Regions from separate parts of the Homo sapiens genome. Here region 1 is linked to region 2. The links are contacts of gene promoters, found by promoter capture Hi-C in human tissues and cell types (Jung and others, 2019). All regions are on one chromosome and are shown on one strand. The core of a region is centred on a gene start or on the middle of the fragment in contact, and the rest is flanking DNA. Distances in the headings are between cores, read along the strand shown.

Evidence for each region. Contacts are between HindIII fragments. The study calls those that stand out against the background at their distance.
Region 1: a fragment that was not itself captured here is called in contact with the fragment with the promoter of TUFT1 in region 2 in 1 of the 25 tissues and cell types used here (liver).

The regions. Positions count from the first base shown.
Region 1 is chr1:151,377,499-151,382,763 of GRCh38, reverse strand. No RefSeq gene overlaps it. Among named protein-coding and RNA genes, the nearest start is that of SELENBP1, 7.4 kb to the right of the region's middle. The HindIII fragment of the contact is 4,780 bases long and covers 1-3,909 here.
Region 2 is chr1:151,536,771-151,542,165 of GRCh38, reverse strand. It overlaps TUFT1 (tuftelin 1), which reads right to left and starts at 1,857. Exons shown (of 13, transcript NM_020127.3): 1 at 1,740-1,857. The coding sequence starts at 1,799. It overlaps CGN (cingulin), which reads right to left. Exons shown (of 21, transcript NM_020770.3): 20 at 5,273-5,395; 21 at 3,474-4,961. The coding sequence ends at 4,820. RefSeq lists enhancers at 1,050-1,564, 1,565-2,080, 2,596-3,112. The HindIII fragment of the contact is 14,328 bases long and covers 1-3,343 here.

The DNA.
Region 1 (5,265 bases), core at 270-2,769, 160 kb after region 2:
CGAGCCTGTAATCCCAGCTACTTGGGAGGCTGATGCAGGAGAATCGCTTGAACCTGGGAGGCGGAAGTTGCAGTGAGCCAAGATCACGCCACTGCACCCCAGCCTGGGCAACAAGAGCGAAACTCAAAAAACAAAACAAAAAAACACAAAACATTAAATTTACCATCTTAACCATTTTTAAACGTATAGCTCAGTAGTGTTAAGTATTTCACACTGTTGTTCAACAGCTCTCTAGAACTTTCTCAGAAGGGCTGTATTGCTGCAACAACAACAACACAGCGTATGTTAGGTTCTGGGTGCTTTTCGAAGAGCTTTATGTATATCATCATGCAATTTTCAAAACACCCTATGAGGGGAATAGATATTTTATTTTCTCTCTTTTAGAGATGAGGAAACCGAGGTACAGAGAGGTTAAATTACTTGCCCAGATTCATAAAGCTAGTAACTGGTGGAAGTGGAATTCACACACACAGTCTGGTTCTAAAATTCTTGTTGTTAATCTCTTAATAATAGACCACTTCTGGCTGATGATGGTGTATAGTGGAGAGCCAGCCACCTGTAACCCAGCCTAGAATGTTTTTCTTCTCTGTAGTCTTCATGTATAACTTCTAAAGCTCTTAGGGTGGACTGAGGGGAGAGGGTATTGGCAAGACAGGGCTAGCCAGGCGACTCCGCAGCTTCTCTCTGCTGTTGGCAGCTTCACTCTCAGGGTTCCTTTCGGGCTCAACCCAGTTCTACTTAAGGATGATGAGCTCCTGGGCTTGGTTCCTGGGCTAGCTAGGTGGATCAGATAATCCCCAGTTCATAAGGAGGCTTGAGTCAAAGGCCACCTGGTGTCCCATCCTCTCATGTTTGGTTTCTCTTGGGACCCAGAAGCTCAGAAGAGGCTGTTTTTCAAGAGAACTGTTCTTTGCTGAAGTGGGCTGGGCTCAATCATTTGGGGTCACCCTGGGGACTCTCCTTCTGCCTCTTGCCTGCCTCATCCCATGGATCACCCCAACTCACCAAGCATCACTGGATCTGCTCGATCATAAGGCCCCAGTGGCAGAAGTGGTTGCAGCCAGAGAGCCCTTTCTTGTCCTAGATCCCAATCAAAGGACACTGCCTCTACCCCTCAAGTTCTATGTGCTGCCATGGCACCACCAGCTGCGCTGGACCCTGGGAGGTTCTGCAGCATGGTGACCCACCCGCACACCAGCCTTCCCTGCAGCAACCAGAACCCACTCCCTACTTCCTTGTGTTGGAGTCTCCGGTGGGCACACCTGGCTGCGTCCAAGACCAAGTCACATGCTTGCTCCTAGCAGCAAGGAGGCCTAAGGCCTGGGACGGTGAGTATCTGGCCTTTTGCCTCCCACCCAATATAGAAAGGGCTGAATGTGCTGGCCAGCCATCCAAGCAACAAAACACAAAAGCATTCTGTCTGAAGGGGCTGCGAACTTATGTGCATAGAGGTCCCAGGCCAGAGCCTGAAGCTACTGCCTGGCTTCAGATCCTGGGCTCTGCTACTCACTAGCTGTGTAACTTTGTATGAGTTGCTTCCTCTTTCTATGCTGTAACTTCTTTATCTGTAAATTGGACATAATGAAAATACCCACTTCATAGGGATGTTGTAAACCCTGTATAAGTAAAGGCAGAACATGCAAATAGCTCAGAGAAGTACTTGGCACATGGAAAGCTTTTATATGAGGTGGATGTGGTTCATTTCTCTTTCTTTATCCCTAAGTACTTCGAACAGTACCATGTATTTAATAAATGATAGCTGTTGTTATTTTATTATTACAGTTTGGGTATCCCTTATCCAAACTGCTTGGGACCAGAAGTGTTCCAGATTTCAGATTTTTTTCAGATTTTGGAATACATATATATATATTAAAATATCTTGGGGATGGGACCCAAGTCTAAACGCAAATTTATTTGTGTTTCATAAACACCTTATACACATAGCCTGAAGGTAACTTTATACAATATTTTAAATAATTTGTACATGAAACAAAGTCTTGACTGTGACCCAACACGTGAGGTCAGGCACGCAATTTGCTACCTGTGGTGTCACACTGGTGCTCAAAACATTTCAGATTTTGGAGCATTTTGGATTTCAGATTTTCAGATTAAGGATGCTCAACCTGTACCTATATCTTTTTTCTTTTTTTTTTTTTTTTTTAGACAGAGTCTCCCTCTGTCGCCCCAGGCTGCAATGCAGTGGTGCAATTTTGGCTCGCTGCAACCTCCACCTCCCAGGTTCAAGTGATTCTCCTGCCTCAGCCTCCCAAGTAGCTGGGATTGCAGGTGTGTGCCACCACGCCAGGCTAATTCTTATACTTTTAGTAGAGACAGGGTTTTGCCATGTTGGCCAGGCTGGTCTCGAACTCTTGACCTCAGGGGATCCACCTGCCTCAGCCTCCCAAAGTGCTGGGATTACAGGCGTGAGCCACCGCCTCAACCTGTACCTGTTTCTTGCCTACTTGTGCAGGTATTTCCATGGGATTGCATCCTTGAAGTGAAATTCCTAGGTAAAACAGTATGCACAGTTTAACTTTTGTGAGGTATTGACAAATTGTTTTTGTTAGTAAGGCACCAATTGACACTCTCATTAGTCCTAAATGAGTGGTCCCTTTGCCGCATAGTCTCACCAATACAAGATTTTAACCTTTAAATTTTTTGCCCATCTTATAGGCAAAAATGTTACTGTATTCTTTCACTGTTTCAATTGTTTACACATGTATTTCAAACTTAATATAAAATTTTAAAAATATGATTGATACATAATGTGAAAAATAAAAATTGCTCCCTGTAATCCAATTCTTGAGGTAACCACTGTTAGCTACATTTGGCATGATAAGGGAAGCTTTATCTCTACAAATCCTTTTCTTTAGGTTTTTTTTTTTTTTTTTAAGCGGAGTCTTGCTCTGTCGCCCAGGGTGGAGTGCAGTGGCACGATCTCAGCTCACTGCAACCTCCACCTCCCGGGTTCATGCCATTCTCCTGCCTCAGATTCCCAAGTAGCTGGGACTACAGGCGCCTGCCACCATGCCCGGCTAATTTTTTTTTTTTTTTTTTTTTTTGTATTTTTAGTAGAGATGGGGTTTCGCTGTGTTAGCCAGGATGGTCTCGATCTCCTGACCTCGTGATCCGCCCGCCTCGGCCTCCCCAAGTCCTGGAATTACAGGAGTGAGCCACCACGCCCGGCCTACTTTTTTTTTTTTTTGAGACAGCGTCTCACTCTGCCACCCAGACCAGAGTGCAGTGGTGCAATCACAGCTCACTGCAGCCTCGACCTCCAGGGCTTAAACAATCTTCCCACCTCAGCACACCTTCCCCACCCCCGAAGTAGCTAGGACTACAGGAGCCTGCCAGGCCTAAATTGTTTTAATTTTTTGTAGAGACGGTGTCTCATTATGTTGCCCAGGCTGGTCACAAACCCCTGGGCTCAAGCAATCTGCCTGCCTCAGCCTCCCAAAATACTGACATCAATCATAAGCCAAATCCTTTTCTATGAACGTATAGATGGATGAATAAATAAATAAATATAAATTTAACTAGTTAAAACTATATAGCTTAATTTTTATGTAGTTTTAATTAAAATGAGGCTGGGCACAGTGGCTCACACCTGTAATCCCAGTACTTTGAGAGGCTGAGGCAGGCAGATCAAGACCAGCCTGGCCAACATGGCGAAACCCCATCTCTACTAAAAATACAAAAAAATTAGCCTGGCTTGGTGGTACATGCCTGTAATCTCAGCTACTTGGGAGGCTGAGGCAGAAGAATTGTTTGAACCCGGGAGGCGGAGGTTGTAGTGAGCCAGGATGGCACCACTGCACTCCAGCCTGGGTGACAGAGCGAGACTCTTGTCTCAAAAAATAAAAAATAAAATGAAATGAGATTATACTTTCTGGTTTCCCCCACCCCTCCACCGTATTTATTGATATCCTTCTGTGTTGGTATATAGAAAACTACACATTAAGGTGCTTGGTGTTTCATACTATGGATGTTCCATAATATATTTCACCATTCTGCTATTGGTTGTTTCCAACCTTTCACTATTAAGAACATTGTTGCAATGAACATCCTATATTTATATATTTATATACTTATTGATTTCCATAAGGTAGATCACTAGAAGTGGATTTCCATTTAAAATGTTGCTAGATGTTGCTAAATTTCCTTCTAAAAATGTTCCACCATTTTATAGTCTTGCCAGTAGAATACAGGAGTGGTCCTTTTCCCCACACTCCTTCTGATCCTGAATATTATCAATCTTTTTATTTTTGAAAATCATATCTTTTTGTTGCTTTAACCAGCATTTCTCTAATGGCTAATGAGACCAGGTATGTTTTCTTATGGTTATTAGCCATTTATATTGTATTTTCATATCCTTGGAATGTTTTTCTTTGTGTAATTTATCTTTTTCCAATTGATTTGTTAAAGATTACTGTATATTGGGAACAGCTATTATTTTCAGTTTAAGCCTTTTTAAACTTTGGTTTCTGAGCACCTTTTGAAAAGGTGAGAAAGGAAATCTGGGGCTCCCATATCCCACATAGCACTTTTAGCATTCCTGCACATGGACGTGACCCTGAGGAGATTGTAAAGGAAACCAGCCGGGTGGATATGATGCAAAAGAGACAGCAGATCCAGGATGGGCAGTGAAGCCCCTGCCCGGGCCTCCTCCCAATTCCATGTAGACCTGAGGCCATGTCTCCCAAAGTCTCTGGCCTCCTGTCCTTCTGGGACACTGGGAGAAGGATCCCCTAACTTCTTCTCAGGCAGCATTCAGGTGCTGAGGTGAGAAAGTGGAGGCCTGGGCTCCGCAAAGAAGGGGATTTGTTTCTGCCCGTCCTGAGCCTTAGTAGAGAAACTGTGACTCAGGGATATGACCCCAGGGACCAAAGATTCTTCCTGCCCCCAAATGGAAGGGCTTTTATTTTCCTTTGGAAATTTTATTTCAAGTATTGTAACATGTTCAAAATAGAAGCTTTATTAGGGGTTTGATGGCTTAATTTGGGCCATTAACCAAGACTGATGTAATTCTTTCTTCTCAGGACTCTTAAATGAATGGGTGCTAGCCAAGTGGGCCTCGTAAAGGTGGAGATTATTGCATGAAAGCCATTTTATGGCTCTTGTCTCAGTTCTTCTGGAGCCAGGCTTGGCACAGGAGAAAGGCTGGAGAGAGGGTGTTGGTGATGGCAAGCGTCACCTGTGTCCTTGTAACCAAAGTTGCTGCTACCTCTTCCAGTCTGCATAATTGGTTTTCAAACCCACCTCATC
Region 2 (5,395 bases), core at 608-3,107:
TAACACTGCCAGTGCCAACTTGGTCTTAGACTTCTTTCCGGATCTCTTTTCTATATAGCAAGCAAGCAAAAAGCAGCCCAAACATCCCTCTCCTTTATTTATCTCATACCCTTTTCCCTCAACTATTCCAAAAGAGAGAGCAAGAGCATGGAAGAGAAGCTATAGGTGGTGTGCATCTGAAGTCCCAGCTACTCAGGAGGCTGAGGCAGAAGGATTGAGGCCAGGAGTTCAAGGCTGTGGTGTGCTATGATTGCACCCGTGAAGAGCCACTGTACTGCAGCTCCGGCAACATAGCAAGACACTCGTCGCTTAAAAACAAAGAGCAGGGAGTAGGACTTGTGGCTGACACATAATGGATAGATTTCTTCCATCTCTTCAGAGTCTCATAGCTGGGGATGTGGCAGGCTACAGAAGAATGGGGTTTGGGCAACTGGGGTTGGCCAATAGCAACATCTGTATTTTAATGTGGCAAAAACACTCATAGCCCAGGCAGAAATGGAGAGGGGACTGGGAAAAGAACTAAATGACCATCTGTATTCTAAACCTGAAATGAGTTTGAAGAAGAGCCATAATCTAGCTGCAGTTGGGTTAGCTCTACCTCAAGAGCAGGATGAGGCAGGCAGAGAGTAAGGGAGTCAGATGTGGGAGGGGGGATGATACACAAGTTCCCCATCACCTTAGTTTTCATTTCACTCCCACCCACAATAGCTTGGAAATTGATGAAATAGTACACACCTAATCTGGGTTAAGTTCCCCAAAAGAGCCTAGAAACACTCAGCCACAAATTACCCTCCTCAGCCTCTGGAGAGGAAAAACCATATGGTCAGCTAGGGTGGGGAGAACTGGGACTGGGAGCCAGAGAAAGAGGAGAGAGGGGTAGACCAGCCTGCACTGGAGAACGCCCCCTTTCTCCGCAACCCTCTCCCCGTCCAGAAGCCTTCGCTTGGGTCACTTCCCTCCCCTTCTCGGCCCGGGTTCTGCATCCCCTTCCTCCACTATCCCAGGGCCTGGCGGCTGGAGACGGAAGCAAAACTAACACACCGTCCCAGGAAGCTATCGGCAGGCAGATAGAGGGAGGAAAACAAGAGAACTACAAGGGGGAAGAAGGAGAAATCCAAGACAAGAGGTGACCCCCGGGCGGAAAGCCCTATCCCTTAGCGAAAGGTAGAGTCCCTAGCCAATCTCGGAATAGTTTGAGTCCTACCGTCCCCTACTTGCCCCCCGCCCTCCAGTCCAAGCCCTGTAATTTACTCTACCATTTTTCTTGTTACTGATCATCCAAAGCACCATGATGAAATTCTTTGGAGGGCCTCGGAGGTCACCAGGACCCTCGACCCACGGGAAAGCCTAAGCCTCCTCGGCAGGACACAACGTCCAAAGGCGCTCAGGGACCCAGTCGCTTGAGCTCATTCTCTTATGACCCAATGTGGCTGCCCAAAAGACGCCTGAGACCCGCGGCCCAAGCACGGGCTCGCCGGCGCCGAGTCCCAGGCAGGAGCCGCAGTGTCCTACCAAAGGGCAGGGACGCCCCGAACCCTCCAGCCTCAAAGGAGTCTTCACCCCGCGACTCCCACTGCCCGTCGCAGGCAAAAGAATAAAAAGAGAGAAGCGCCGCGCAGGGCTGACCGCGCGAGCCGGGCACCAGGTGATGTCAGCCAACACGGCGCGGGGCACGGAAGGGGCGGACTTAGAAACCGGGAATACAAAACGGAGAAGACAGCGAGAGCGCTTTTTCTTACCGCCGCCTGGTCCTCTGGGTGCACGTCCACCAGGGTACACCAGTTCCGCGTCCCGTTCATCTTCCCTCGGGGTCGCAGCACACACGCCACTTGTCCACCCCGCTGTCTGGCTCCAACTGGGCGGGCGCGCGCGGAACCGCCCCCTTGTATAGGCCCATCAGGGGCGGGGCTGAAGATAGGCCGCGCCCCCAGTTCGCGGTTTCGCAGAGAACTAACGATAGGCGAGGAGGTGAGGTGGGCGGAGCCAATGGGTCTGGGACATGCCCCATCGGTGCTCGCATAGATTTACACAAAGGTGGGGCTTGGGAGCGACATGGGGCTGCTTTAACTGAACAGCTTTATCTGGAGTATGTGGTTGCACATTCTTCATTAATCTTGTCGCTTTCCATCTTTCCAAGATCAGTGTTGGTCAGAGGGAATCACCCTGCCTGCTCCTAGTGGATGAGGAGTTGGAACCTGCAAAAGCTTCCTTCCATACATGCTCCTCTCCCTATACGTAAGCCACCTGTAGGCTTTGTGGAGCTGAGTAAACCTTTCCTCCACCGCAGAAAGGCAGGCACCAAGGTCCAGCTCACTCAGACTGGCCTAAGCCAGTCTGGCAGGTGCACTTCCTTGGCAAGAGGCCCAGGAGGCCCAGTCAGCTTAGGCTCTGGGTGGGGCTTGTTTTGCAGAAGCTCTTTTACTGACGCTGCCCTTATATAGTTGGGAGAGGCGGGACACATTGCCTTAAAAGGAATTTGTGTTCGTGAGAAAGGATGAGCCTTGACTTTTCCAGTTGCATTTTCTCCCCAAGCCTAGGCTGGGATCTTGAGGGCCTAGAAGAGAGGGTTGGCCAAGCAGGACCCTGGAGCTTCGTCCCCGCCCAGCTGCTCTTGGCAGATGGCTTCTTCACTTGGCTGTGGTCCACAGAGACAGCAGACAGAATACTTTAGGAGGAGGTCTGACCCACTCCTGAAGGGATAGTACTCCTATACCTGGCAATAGGCTCTAGTGAAGGGCCAGCTCCCTCTTCAAGGCAACACTAGGGCAGGAACAGCAGAAATGTCCCTACCTCCCAGTTAGGGACTGGGTCCTATGTCAGTTAGGAATGAATGAGGATTTTTCTACCTGGGAAGTGAATGCTGGGGTTATCACTATGACCCAAGGGAATAAAACCCAGTTCTGGTCTGTTCTACTCTAACCCTCAAAAAGGCATTTACTGCTGGCCAGGCGCAGTGGCTTATGCCTGTAATCCCACCACTTTGGGAGGCCGAGGTGGGCGGATCACAAGGTCAGGAGTTTGAGACCAGCCTGACCAACACAGTGAAACGCCATCTCTACTAAAAATACAAAAATTAGCTGGGTGTGGAGGCACGCGCCTGTAATCCCAGCTACTCAGGAGGCTGAGGCAGGAGAATCGCTTGAACCCGGGAGGCAGAGGTTGCAGTGAGCTGAGATCATGCCATTACACTCCAGCCTGGGTGACAGAGTGAGACTCCGTCTCAAAAAAAAAAAAAAAAAAAAGGCATTTACTGTCCTTGTTCTTCCCAGAAGGTTGTTCAGGAGAGAAGAGAATGGGGCTGCTATAAACATCTCCAGGTTTCGTAGGTCCCATCTGCTCTGTTCTAAAGGGCCTCTGAAAAGTCAGGTGAAGAAAACTCCAGCTTCGGCTCCTAAGCTGTACAGTTAATATGACTTCATAAAATCTGGACCTCCAAATATGCCAAGAAAAAGAATGAGAAGACAAACCAAGGATTTCAATATAAATGTGTAATTTTAATATTTAATTTAAAATAAAACCAAGGCTGGATTGGATTGGGAAAGAACGTTTGATTTGCAGAAGAATATAGGAATTTTTTTAATCACGACATTACAAGTCATTTGTGAAAACAGCCTTCCTCCTGCCACCGGCTCCCTATACAACCTGCTTAGGAAATATGGAGGTGAATCATCCCCCTTACCTCTTCCCTACCAGGGCTTGGTTCTCCCCAAAATCCAAAGGAGAAATAAATGTCTTCCGTTGCCTCTTCCCATTTTTACAGTCAGCTTCTAACCCCTTGCAAAGCCCTGAATCAGAGCCAAGCACCTCAGAAAATGAGGGTCCCTTGGTTCTCTTATTGAAGTTGGGCACATGTGGTCAGAGAAGCCCCAAGGAAGGCCACAGGGACTGACACCTTTACTTTTGGAATTTGTGCAGCCAGTTGTCAGGGCTCCCAGGTGCAACCACCTTATAACCATATCCACAGTCACAGAGGAGGGAGAGGAGGAAGGATGAAAACCCTGAGCAGGACCAGACCCCCGCCACTTTATCATGACCCTACCAAAGTCCCTCTCCCAGGGGTCATTGGCAGAGAAACCCCAACAGCTCTCTCAATCAATCACTGGGGCAGCAGGGAAGGCTGAGGGCCCTGGCTGGGGAAAAGCTGGTCTTTGGAGAGGTATGAATGTGCAGATATAAAAAGCAAGAAGAGCATCCTTATCTCCTTGCCTTGGCTAAGGCACTGACAGGAAAAATGCAAGGTAGGAATGGCAAAGAGGGGAAAGGAAGAAGACAAAAATATAGGAACTGGAGGGGTATGGGGACTACCACATGGGCCCCATACTTGTGCAAAGAAATGGGTAGAGCCATGCCTGCATGTCTGTTACCCATAACATTCCCCTCACCCTGCTCCAGAGTGGAAGGAAAATGAGTTGCAGGAATCCAGGGAGCACAATAACATAGGGTATTTCCCTGAGCCTTAGGGTTAAGGGCTAAAGAATAAAGCTTTATACACATGGCAATTTCTATCCCTTCCTATCCTTCTCAGTCCCCATCAGCCTAATGCTGACCATCCTTCCACTATAAGAGAGATGAGGGAGGTGTCGGCACTTGAGGAAAAGGCTCAGTTGGCTTGAAATGTCCACTCCTACAGTGGAAAGTCCATCTATCAGCTTATTGCTGATGATTTTTTTTTTTTATCACCATCACTCTGACCCCTCCCTGTCTTAGGTCTGAATAATTGGGTCACCCATAGGAATGCAGAACCCAGGGTGGGCAGAGCAGAGCAGCACTTGCTGGGATAGGCCTCGAGCCTGGTTTCTGAGTCCTTGAGGACCACGAGCTAACAGGAGCTGGTCTGTAGGTTGCTCTCCGTAAGCAGTGATGCAATGGACGAGGGATCGTAGACACTGTCGAATTCCTCATCTGAGCTCAGCCCTTCGTTTTTGAGAGCTGACTCAGCAGCTGAGCGGGAAGCTTTGCGCCTGACTCAGAGAGAAGAATAATGGTTGGGGAGGGGAAAATAGAAATATTAAGACAGCCACCCTTTTTGTACAAAGGAAACCCCAATTCTTCTAAGGCCTAAAGTTTATTCACAAAATCCCCAACTAATCAGATTTGGGGAGGTACAGGATGGTGGCTGAGATACTAATAAATAAATATACTGGCTTCCAACCAGAAACAAGTGACTACACAGTACCATGTTAGAGATTCTCCTCCTTATCCAGCACAGGAGAGACCATTCCCTCCCTGCTCTAGTGTCCCTATGGAGCAAGGGCAAAAGGGTAGCCCATACCAGGAGTCCTTCTCCAGAGACTTGATCCGGGCCTGGAGCTGTTCATTGACCTCATGCTGCTCCTCCACCTCACGCTGGGCCTTCTTCCTCAGGCCGTCCAGTCGCTCAATTTCCTCTTCTGCT